3 separate regions of the Homo sapiens genome follow, and all the other regions are linked to region 1. Evidence: promoter capture Hi-C in human tissues and cell types (Jung and others, 2019). All regions are on one chromosome and are shown on one strand. Each heading gives the region's core, a stretch centred on a gene start or on the middle of the fragment in contact. The rest is flanking DNA. Distances are from core to core; before and after follow the strand shown. Region 1 holds the start of C12orf43 (chromosome 12 open reading frame 43). Region 2 holds the start of DYNLL1 (dynein light chain LC8-type 1). Region 3 has its middle 17 kb from the start of COX6A1.

Region 1 (2,866 bases), core at 216-2,715:
AACCACATATTTGCCACCATGTATTGGGCCTTTAAGATGTGCCAAGCACTGTAGATTGCATTATCTCAGTTACTTCTCAACCTTATGGGGTGGGTACTATCACTACCCGCACTGTACAGATGAGGAAATTTAGGTACAGTGAGATTTAAGTACTTTGCTCAAGTTCCCACCGCTAATGAGATGGAAAGGCAGATCTGTAAATAGAACTTGCAGAGAAAACTGTGGTTATGGTACTAGGGGGTGAGAGGGGCAGACTATGGTCTGGAAGCTACCTACAGGAAGTGCAGTATGGCAGGAGGGAAGGAAGGGAGAGGAAGGCAATGGATCACCAAAGGGCTTGTAAGTCCTTTTAAACAAATCCAGCGGTTCTTAACCTTGCTTTGCCATAGCCTTCTCTAACAGCCTGGTGAAGCCCGGTTCTCTTCTCAGAGCAATGTTTTAAATGCATGAAATGCAACATACAGGATTACAAAGAAAACCAATGATACCGAAATTTAATTATCATGATAGTAAACAACCAAACTTGTGATGTATGTGCTTCTTACATCTTAGATATAGAGATGGGTCTAAAAATTAGAGTGGCACATTTTAAATCAGGGATGAGTGTAAATGACTTTTTTCCCCAATATCTTTTTATCAATAAAATGATATATTGATATCTGTATCTGCAAAGATTGTAATGAGATATGAAAATCTGTGACTTCTGTTGGGATAAAGTAACGGCATTGCCAGAACTACTGTGGCTTAGTGCTTGCAAGACGGAAAGAGATGCTAAAATTCAGTCAGAGATGAATAGAAAGCAAAGATGCAACATGTTTTCATTCCAAATTCAAGAACCCTTGGGTTCTATCCATGATTAGGCCCCTTGATGTTGCGGGGCTCTGTATTTATTCCCAGGGCACTAGGGAGTCACGGTCAGAGTGATGTGCTGGGCACTGCTCTTGGCAACAACCTCCAGGGTGGGAGAATGTGTTGGAGGTGGGGAAAGGCTGGGTGCGAGAATACCGGGAGGGGGCTGTTGCAGTTATCTCGAAGAGACGGCAGCCTTCCCAGTGTGGGGCAGTGAGGATAGACCCAAGGAGGCAGAATCAAAAGACATTTGGGTACCTCAGCTTCCCCGACTGGAATAATGAAATACCCTCCCTACTGCACCTGCCCATGCTTTCAATCTGCACTACACCCAGTCCCTGGAGGTCTCTCGGGGAAGGAAGCCGAGTCCCAGTGACTCTCTCCTCACCATCCATCCTCTCAGGCTCCAGGGGAAGATCCCACGCCCCTCAGCCAGTCTCCCCAAACATAGTACCCTACCGGCTCTTGGCTTCCCTGCCACGTGCGGGCGTTGCTCCAAGCCCCAAGCCGGCATTGCCGCCTCGCGGCACCGCTCCAGCTCCTCCGCATCGCTACTGCTGTTACTACTTTCCGAATCGCTCACTGTGCCACTGGGCGCCGCCATCTTGAACCACCGCAAAGGATTGTGGAGAACACCGCCGTTATCAAGCCTCCTTCATGACGTCACGTGAGAGGAGAGGCGCGAGGCATTGTGGGGATTGTAGTTCCAAGACTTGGACCGCCATTGGCCATGAACTGTACTGGGTTGGGGATACCAGGTGGGAATGGGGAGGTGGGCGGTTCTCAAAGGCAAGAGCTAGAAGGGCCTAAGAGATTAACTTCTCCAATCATTTCTTGATGACAGATCTCCAGAGGGGATGGGAATCTCCTAAGGAGTTAATGACAGACCCAGGATTAGTTCCCAGGTTTTGATTCCATGTCATTTATTCTAGTAATTTCCCAGTCCAGCTGGGCCTAAGAAACACCTTAGAGAGCTGGTTAAACTGCAGACTTTTGGGTCTCACAGAAAATACTAACAGAATCAGAATCTCTGATAGGTGGAATCCAGGAATCTGTATTTCCTTTAATAGCCTAGGGCCTTACTACTTAAGAGTGTAGTCCATGAGCCAGCAGCATTGGTAACACCTGGGAGCTCGTTAGAAATGCAGAATCCAGGCTGGGCACGGTGGCTCACGCCTGTAATCCCAACACTTTGGGGGGCTGAGGCAGGCAGATCACAAGGTCAGGAGTTCGAGACCAGCCTGGCCAACATAGTGAAACCCCATCTCTACTAAAAATACAAAAATTAGCTGGGCATGGTGGCACGCACCTGTAGTCCCAGCTACTCAGGAGGCTGAGGCAGGAAAATCACTTGAACCTGGGAGGTGGAGGTTGAGGTGAGCCAAGATCGTGCCACTGCACTCCAGCCTGGGCAACAGACTGAGACTCTGTCTCGAAAAAAAAAAAAGAGAAATGCAGAATCCTGTCCGGGCACGGTGGCTCACATCTGTAATCCCAACACTTTGTGAGGCCGAGGCGGGCAGATCATGAGGTCAGGAGTTCGAGACTAGCCTGACCAACATGGTGAAACCCCATCTCTACTAAAAATACAAAAATTAGCCAGGCAATACTGACTCCCAGGACCCATCCAAGACCAAAAAATTAGAATCTCTGTGGTTAAAATACCTCACAGTGAAGGATGAACAAAATCACTTTACTTTTGTGTGTGGAATGCTGTTTCATGTTTTATCTTTGAAGACAGGTATGTCAAAACTTTACTAAAATAAACTCTCTGGCCTTGAGCTTTTTCTATTTCAAAGAAGAGGAAGGTGACTGATATGGTCTGAATGTGTTCCTCCAAAATTCATATGTTAAAATTGACACCATAAAATAAATAACAGAGAGACTGACTCTCCAAAATAAAGCGTTTATTCCAGAATTGCAAGGAATTGCAATTTGAGATATGCATGCTATAGTGGACTATAGGCACATTAAAAGAGGTTGTGGCAACGAGAAAAGACAAAGTCCACATAAGCTT
Region 2 (3,081 bases), core at 550-3,049, 520 kb before region 1:
TTTTTGAGAGAGTCTCGCTCTGTCTCCCAGGCTGGAGTGCAGTGGTGCGATCTCGGCTCACTGCAAGCTCAGCCTCTGGGGTTCACGCCGTTCTCCTGCCTCAGCCTCCCAACTAGCTGGGACTACAGGCGCTCACCACCACGCCCGGCTAATTTTTTTTTTTTTTGTATTTTTAGTAAAGATGGGGTTTCACCATGTTAGCCAGGATGGTCTTGATCTCCTGACCTCGTGATCCGCCTGCCTCGGCCTCCCAAAGTGCTGGGATTACAGGCGTGAGCCACCACACCCGGCCATATAAGGTATTATTAATGAACAATTACATTACTATATTATGATGATAGTATTATTATAGTAAAAATTAAATAAATAATAACAGGGGTAGTGTAGTGTAGATATGGAAAAAAATCATGAGGATGATTTAGGAAATTTCCCTGGGGTTTCTACTTAGTGGAGTCACCGTGGCTTTACTTTAGTGTCATTTGCATTTCCAGGGTCCTCACTTGTTGTCAACCTATTTCTTCCTCAAGAGAGGTACTATAGTAATATTATAACTCCTCAAACCCTGAATCTCATCATTAGAAACATGGAACTGGAAAAAGCTGTTGATTTAATTGATATGCATATGTTGAACCTGAAAAGGTTCTAATTATTGCCATTTTTTTCCTTTTTTTTTTTTTTGAGACGGAGTTGCCCAGGCTGGAGTGCAATGGCGCGATCTCGGCTCACTACAGACTCTGTGTCCCGGGTTCAAGTGATTCTCCTGCCTCAGCCTCCTGAGTAGGTGGGATTACAGGCACGTGCCACCATGCCCAGCTAATTTTGTATTTTTAGTAGAGATGGGGTTTCTCCATGTTGATCAGGCTGGTCTCAAACTCCTTACCTCAGGTCATCCACCCGCCTCGGCCTCCCAAAGTGCTGGGATTATAGGCATGAGCCACCGCACCCGGCCTATTCCCATCTTTTTCTTTCTGGAGTTGTGTGCCTCTGCTCAAATTGTTTTATTTTTATTTTTTGAGATGGGGTTTGGCCATATTGCCCAGGCTGGTCTCCAACTACTGAGCTCAAGCGATCCCCTTGACTCGGCTTCTCAAAGTGCTGGGATTACAGGTGTGAGCCATCATGCCCAGCCACAAATTGTTTTAAGGAGTAATGAGAGTAGATGGTCAGAGGAAAATGTAGAAATGTAAATAGGAAGCTTCCAGATACATGATTAACCTGATAACTTATTTATGGAGGTTCGAAAAATACATTATAGGCATTTCAGAGCTGGTTGTTCAAAACCTTGCTGTGGCCTTTGGGATAGTTGTATAAACTGACAATTATTGATAAGATTCATTGATCATTTACTATGTGCCTCACATTGTGCTGAGAGAACTTCAAATGTTTAATACTGCTAACAAGCGTATGAACTGGTTTCCTTTTACATTTAGTCCTCCTTTACTTAAAGAAGACATTCAAATAGCTAGTAAATGACAGTGCTGGGATTTAAATCCAGATCTGACTTGTCCCTCAACTCCCCCAAGATCTTGCTTTTTTAACCACTTCGTGTCTCCTCCCTAAGCCAGAGGGGACGTCATCTCTCTAACGGCCGCTTTTTCGTCCATTAGAATACCTCCTCCTCAGAGATAAATCCCAACCAAGAATCTCTCCCACACAGGAAAGACTGCCTCACCTGAGCAAGAAGCTTCACCCTGGACAAAAACCCCGGGGCTCAACACTCCCAAATCCACCCGGATCCCCATCCCCAACCCCTTAAAGGATGTCCGCATTGCTTGGCAGAGACCCCACTCTTGGGGATAATCCCTTAATTCGTAAGGAAACACCCTCCCTCCTTGAAGCCCTCCCTCAATCCTGAGGATGCCCTCCCCTAAATATTTCAGAGCAGAACCGACTACAAATGGGGCCCAGTGCAAAATGAAAACGTAAGGGTCCCTCCTGTGAGACTGCACTGCTGGTTTACCCACGAAGCCGGCCCTGCTTCAGAGATACCCTTTCAGTAAAGGGAGAGGCCACCTCTGTCGTAATCCTGCTAACCTGGGGTGCGAGATCATGCGACCTGTCGTGGTGGGGGGGCGGGGGGGTGGGGGCAGGAATGGCCACCAACTTCTAGAGACTGTTGTTCGAGAACACACCCTGGGACAACCTCCGTGAATTTGGAATCACTTCCCTTGGCCCCGGCAGAAGCTCCCTTCCTACCTCTCCAGACAGCTGGGTGGTCCTCGTAACCCGGCCGGGGCTCCACCTTCTGGGTGTGTGGGCCTCGTAGCGTGCGGCCCATTGCCCGGGCAACCGACGCCGTGAGCGGTGCATTGTGGTCTGCAACAAAATGCAGGAGAAAGATCCTGAGGGAACCATGGAGTCAATGGACCAATGGAAGAATGCCGTGGGCTGCGTCAAGCCAATAGGGTCGCGCGGCGAGGGGCGGGGCCGGCGGGAGCAGGGCGGGGCCTGAGCACTAGGCGGCGGCGGCTGGCGTGGGGCTGCTTAGATGCGCCACGGTTTCGGTAGCGACGGTATCTCTAGCCGGGCCTGAGCTGTGCTAGCACCTCCCCCAGGAGACCGTTGCAGTCGGCCAGCCCCCTTCTCCACGGTGAGAAACTCGGGGGGCCAGGGGGTGTCCTCGCTGCCTTATTTCGCCCCACTCCGGACTTAGCCCTCCGCGTAGCCCGCGCTTCCTGAGAAGTGGGGTGGGGGGCGTCGTCCCGTGGTGGCGCCGGCCGGGGTGGGGGCAGTTAGTGCCTGGGGGGCGCGGCCCAACTCAACCCCTTACCCCAGGCCTTGCCCACTAGGTAACCATGTGCGACCGAAAGGCCGTGATCAAAAATGCGGACATGTCGGAAGAGATGCAACAGGACTCGGTGGAGTGCGCTACTCAGGCGCTGGAGAAATACAACATAGAGAAGGACATTGCGGCTCATATCAAGAAGGTGAGGATGGGCGCGGGGGCCGATACGCAGCCGGGAGCAGGGGGTTCCTTCCCCCCGATCCTGCTTTCCTAAGGGCGCCTGACAGGTCCCGGGAATACTGCTGGCGGCTTGGGGCGTAGAAGCTTCCAGAAAGGACGCAGATGCATTTTGCGCT
Region 3 (3,180 bases), core at 660-3,159, 590 kb before region 1:
GAGCTGAGATCGCACCGTTGCACTCTAGCCTGGGAGACAAGAGCGAAACTCTGTCTCAAAAAACAAAAAAAGAAAAAATATAAAAATTAGCTGAGTGTGGTGGCACGTGCCTGTAGTCCCAGCTACTTGTGAGGCTGAGGCAGGAGAAGCGCTTAAACCCGGGAGTCGGAGGTTGCGGTGAGCCGAGATCACGCCACTGCACTCCAGCCTGGGCAACAGGAGCAGAACTCTGCCTCAAAAACAAACAAACAAACAAAACACCACTCATGTAGGGTACGTTGATAATGGGGGAAGCTGTGCCTGTGTCTGGAGAGGAGAGAGATATATAGGAAATCTCTGTACCTTCTGCTTAATATTGCTGTGAACCTAAAACTGCTCCAAAAAATAAAGTTTTTGTTTGCTTGTTTGTTTATTAAGACAGGGTCTCGGCTGGGCATGGTGGCTCACGCCTGTAATCCCAGTACTTTGGGAGACTGAGGTGGGCGGATCCCAAGGTCAGGAGATGGAGACCATCCTGGCTAACACGGTGAAACCCCATCTCTACTAAAAATACAAAAACAAAATTAGTCAGGCGTGGTGGCGGGCGCCTGTAGTCCCAGCTACTCGGGAGGCTGAGGCAGGAGAATGGTGTGAACCCGGAAGGCGGAGCTTGCAGTGAGCCGAGATCGCGCCACTGCACTCAAGCCTCGGCAACAGAGCGAGACTCCGTCTCAAAAAAAAAAAAAAAAAAAAAAGACAGGGTCTCACTCTGTTGTCCAGGCTGGAGTGCAGTGACGCAATCATGGCTTATTCAGCATTGACCTCCTGAGCTCCTGTGATCCTCCTGCCTCCACCTTCCGAGTAGCTGAGACTACAGGTGTGCACCACCATGCCTGGCTAACTTTTGTATTTTTTGTAGAGACGTGGGTCTCACTATGTTGCCCAGGCTGATCTTGACCTCCCGGGCTCAAGCAATCCTCCTGCCTTGGCCTCCCAAAGTGCTAGGATTACAGGCATGAGCCACCATGCCTGGCCAATAAAGCTTAATTAAAAAGAAAAGAAGCCAGGTGCGGTGGTTCCTGCCTGTAATCCCAGCACTTTGGGAGGCTGAGGTGGGTGCATCACCTGAGGTCAGGAGTTTGAGACCAGCCTGGCCAACATAGTGAAACCTCATCTCTACTAAAAATACAAAACTTGGCCGGGCATGGTGGCGGGTGCCTGTAATCCCAGCTACTCGGGATGCTGAGACAGGAGAATTGCTTGAACCTGGGAGGCGGAGGTTGCAGTGAGCCAAGATCTGCCACTGCTCTCCAGCCTGGGCAACACAGTGAGACTCTGTCTCAAAAAATAAACTACTGGGAGCCGTGACTCATGCCTGTAATCCCAGCACTTTGGGAGGCTGAGGCGGGCGGATCACCTAAAGTCAGGAGTTCAAGACCAGCCTGTCCAACATGGTGAAACTCCGTCTTTACTAAAAAATACAAAAATTAGCCGGTTATGGTGGCGGGCACCTGTAATCCCAGCTACTTGAGAGGCTAAGACAGGAGAATTGCTTGAACCCAGGAGGCGGAGGTAGCAGTGAGCCAAGATCGTGCCACTGCACTCCAGCCTGGGCAACAGAGCGGGACTCCGTCCAGAAAAAAAAAAAAAAAGAGAGAGAGAGAGAGAGAGGAGATTGTGCAGTTCTCAATTATTTATCAATTTTGATTTCTTCTCTCTCCAGACCATAATACTAATATCGGCACCACACTTTGCAGCTTATAAAGCACTTTCAATTCTATTTTATTTAATTCTTGCAACCCCAGGCAGAAGGCTTTTATTACCCCCTTTCTATAGGTTGGGAAACTGAGGCTCAGAGAGGAGAAATGAAGGTTCCAAGTAGAGGTAAGTAAGGCATTCAACTGGGGCAAGAATTTAGAGTTACTTGATGAAGTGCCTAATTAGCCCCAGGGCATGGTGTTGACAAAGGAACTATAATGAAAACACTAAACTCTACCTTTTGTGGAGGAAGATCCCCTGGGGCGGGGGAAGGAGGTAAGGAGTAGAGACTAAGAAGTTGACCATGTCTGGTTCATCTGTGATCCTGGGCCAATGTAGGCCCTGGGGAAAGATTTGGTGCTGGGTTGAAGAAATAAGAAGTGAAGGAGGCCAGGCACAGTGGCTCACGCCTGTAATCTCAGCACTTTGGGAGGCCAAGGCGGGTGGATCACGAAGTCAGGAGTTCAAGACCAGCCTGGCCAAGATAGTGAAACCCCGTCTCTACTAAAAACACAAAATTAGCAGGGCGTGATGGTGCATGCCTGTAATCCCAGCTACTCGGGAGGCTAAGGCAGGACAATCGCTTGAATCCAGGAGGCAGAGGTTGCAGTGAGCTGAGATGTCACCATTGCACTCCAGCCTGGGCAACAAGAGCGAAACTCCATCTCAACAACAACACGGTGGCTCACGCCTGTAATCCTAGCACTTTAGGAGGCTGAGGTGGGCAGATCGCGAGGTCAGGAGATCAAGACCATCCTGGTTAACATGGTGAAACCCCGTCTCTACTAAAAATACAAAAAAAAATTAGCCAGGTATTGTGGCGGGTGCCTGTAGTCCCAGCTACTCGCGAGGTTGAGGCAGGAGAATGGCATGAACCCAGGAGGTGGAGCTTGCAGTGAGCCGAGATCGCGCGACTGCACTCCAGCCTGGGAGACAGAGCGAGACTCTGTCTCAAAAAAAAAAAAAAAAAAAAAAAAAACCAACAACAACCAAAAAAAAAACAAAAAGTGAATGAATAAATGAATGAATAAAGGGAGAAACTTGGAGCAAGACCCCTTCGCCCTCTCTGGACTCAGTTTCCCCATTTTTTACTTGTTGACAGCTAAGTTTCTCATCCTTAGGAAAATGAGCAGACACAATATTGTACTCTATTTCCAGATGCACACAGACCACCCTCCTGAACCCCTACTGTGGATCCCTTGGGAGGGGGTGATCCACTGAACCCTATGTAGGGAGCCCCTGAATTTGAGGATCTGAGATCCCTTCCAGCCCTGGTGTTAATAGTTGTAATAATGATAATAGTAATAATAATAGGATCCAGAAGTTTTGGGATATTGGCTCTGGGTCAGGCACTGTGCTAAAAGCTTTATCTCATGTAATCTCTTTACAGCCCTGTGACGCAGCCATGGTTATTATCATCTCCATTTTGCAGATGAGAAAACT

The links. Contacts are between HindIII fragments. The study calls those that stand out against the background at their distance.
Region 2: a contact is called between a fragment that was not itself captured here and the fragment with the promoter of C12orf43 in region 1, in 2 of the 25 tissues and cell types used here (IMR-90 fibroblasts and dorsolateral prefrontal cortex).
Region 3: a fragment that was not itself captured here is called in contact with the fragment with the promoter of C12orf43 in region 1 in 1 of the 25 tissues and cell types used here (lymphoblastoid cells).

The regions. Positions count from the first base shown.
Region 1 is chr12:121,015,022-121,017,887 of GRCh38, forward strand. It overlaps C12orf43 (chromosome 12 open reading frame 43), which reads right to left and starts at 1,466. Exons shown (of 6, transcript NM_022895.3): 1 at 1,309-1,466. The coding sequence starts at 1,453. It also overlaps a transcript of OASL not described here. RefSeq lists enhancers at 645-1,160, 1,132-1,641 and a silencer at 1,369-1,562. The HindIII fragment of the contact is 5,444 bases long and covers 1-2,866 here.
Region 2 is chr12:120,493,627-120,496,707 of GRCh38, forward strand. DYNLL1 (dynein light chain LC8-type 1) reads left to right here and starts at 2,487. Exons shown (of 3, transcript NM_003746.3): 1 at 2,487-2,590; 2 at 2,790-2,927. The coding sequence starts at 2,796. NRAV (negative regulator of antiviral response) reads right to left here and starts at 2,320. Exons shown (of 2, transcript NR_038854.1): 1 at 2,197-2,320. RefSeq lists silencers at 2,031-2,080, 2,371-2,890 and an enhancer at 2,145-2,811. The HindIII fragment of the contact is 4,647 bases long and covers 1-3,081 here.
Region 3 is chr12:120,419,911-120,423,090 of GRCh38, forward strand. No RefSeq gene overlaps it. Among named protein-coding and RNA genes, the nearest start is that of COX6A1, 17 kb to the right of the region's middle. The HindIII fragment of the contact is 4,053 bases long and covers 1-3,180 here.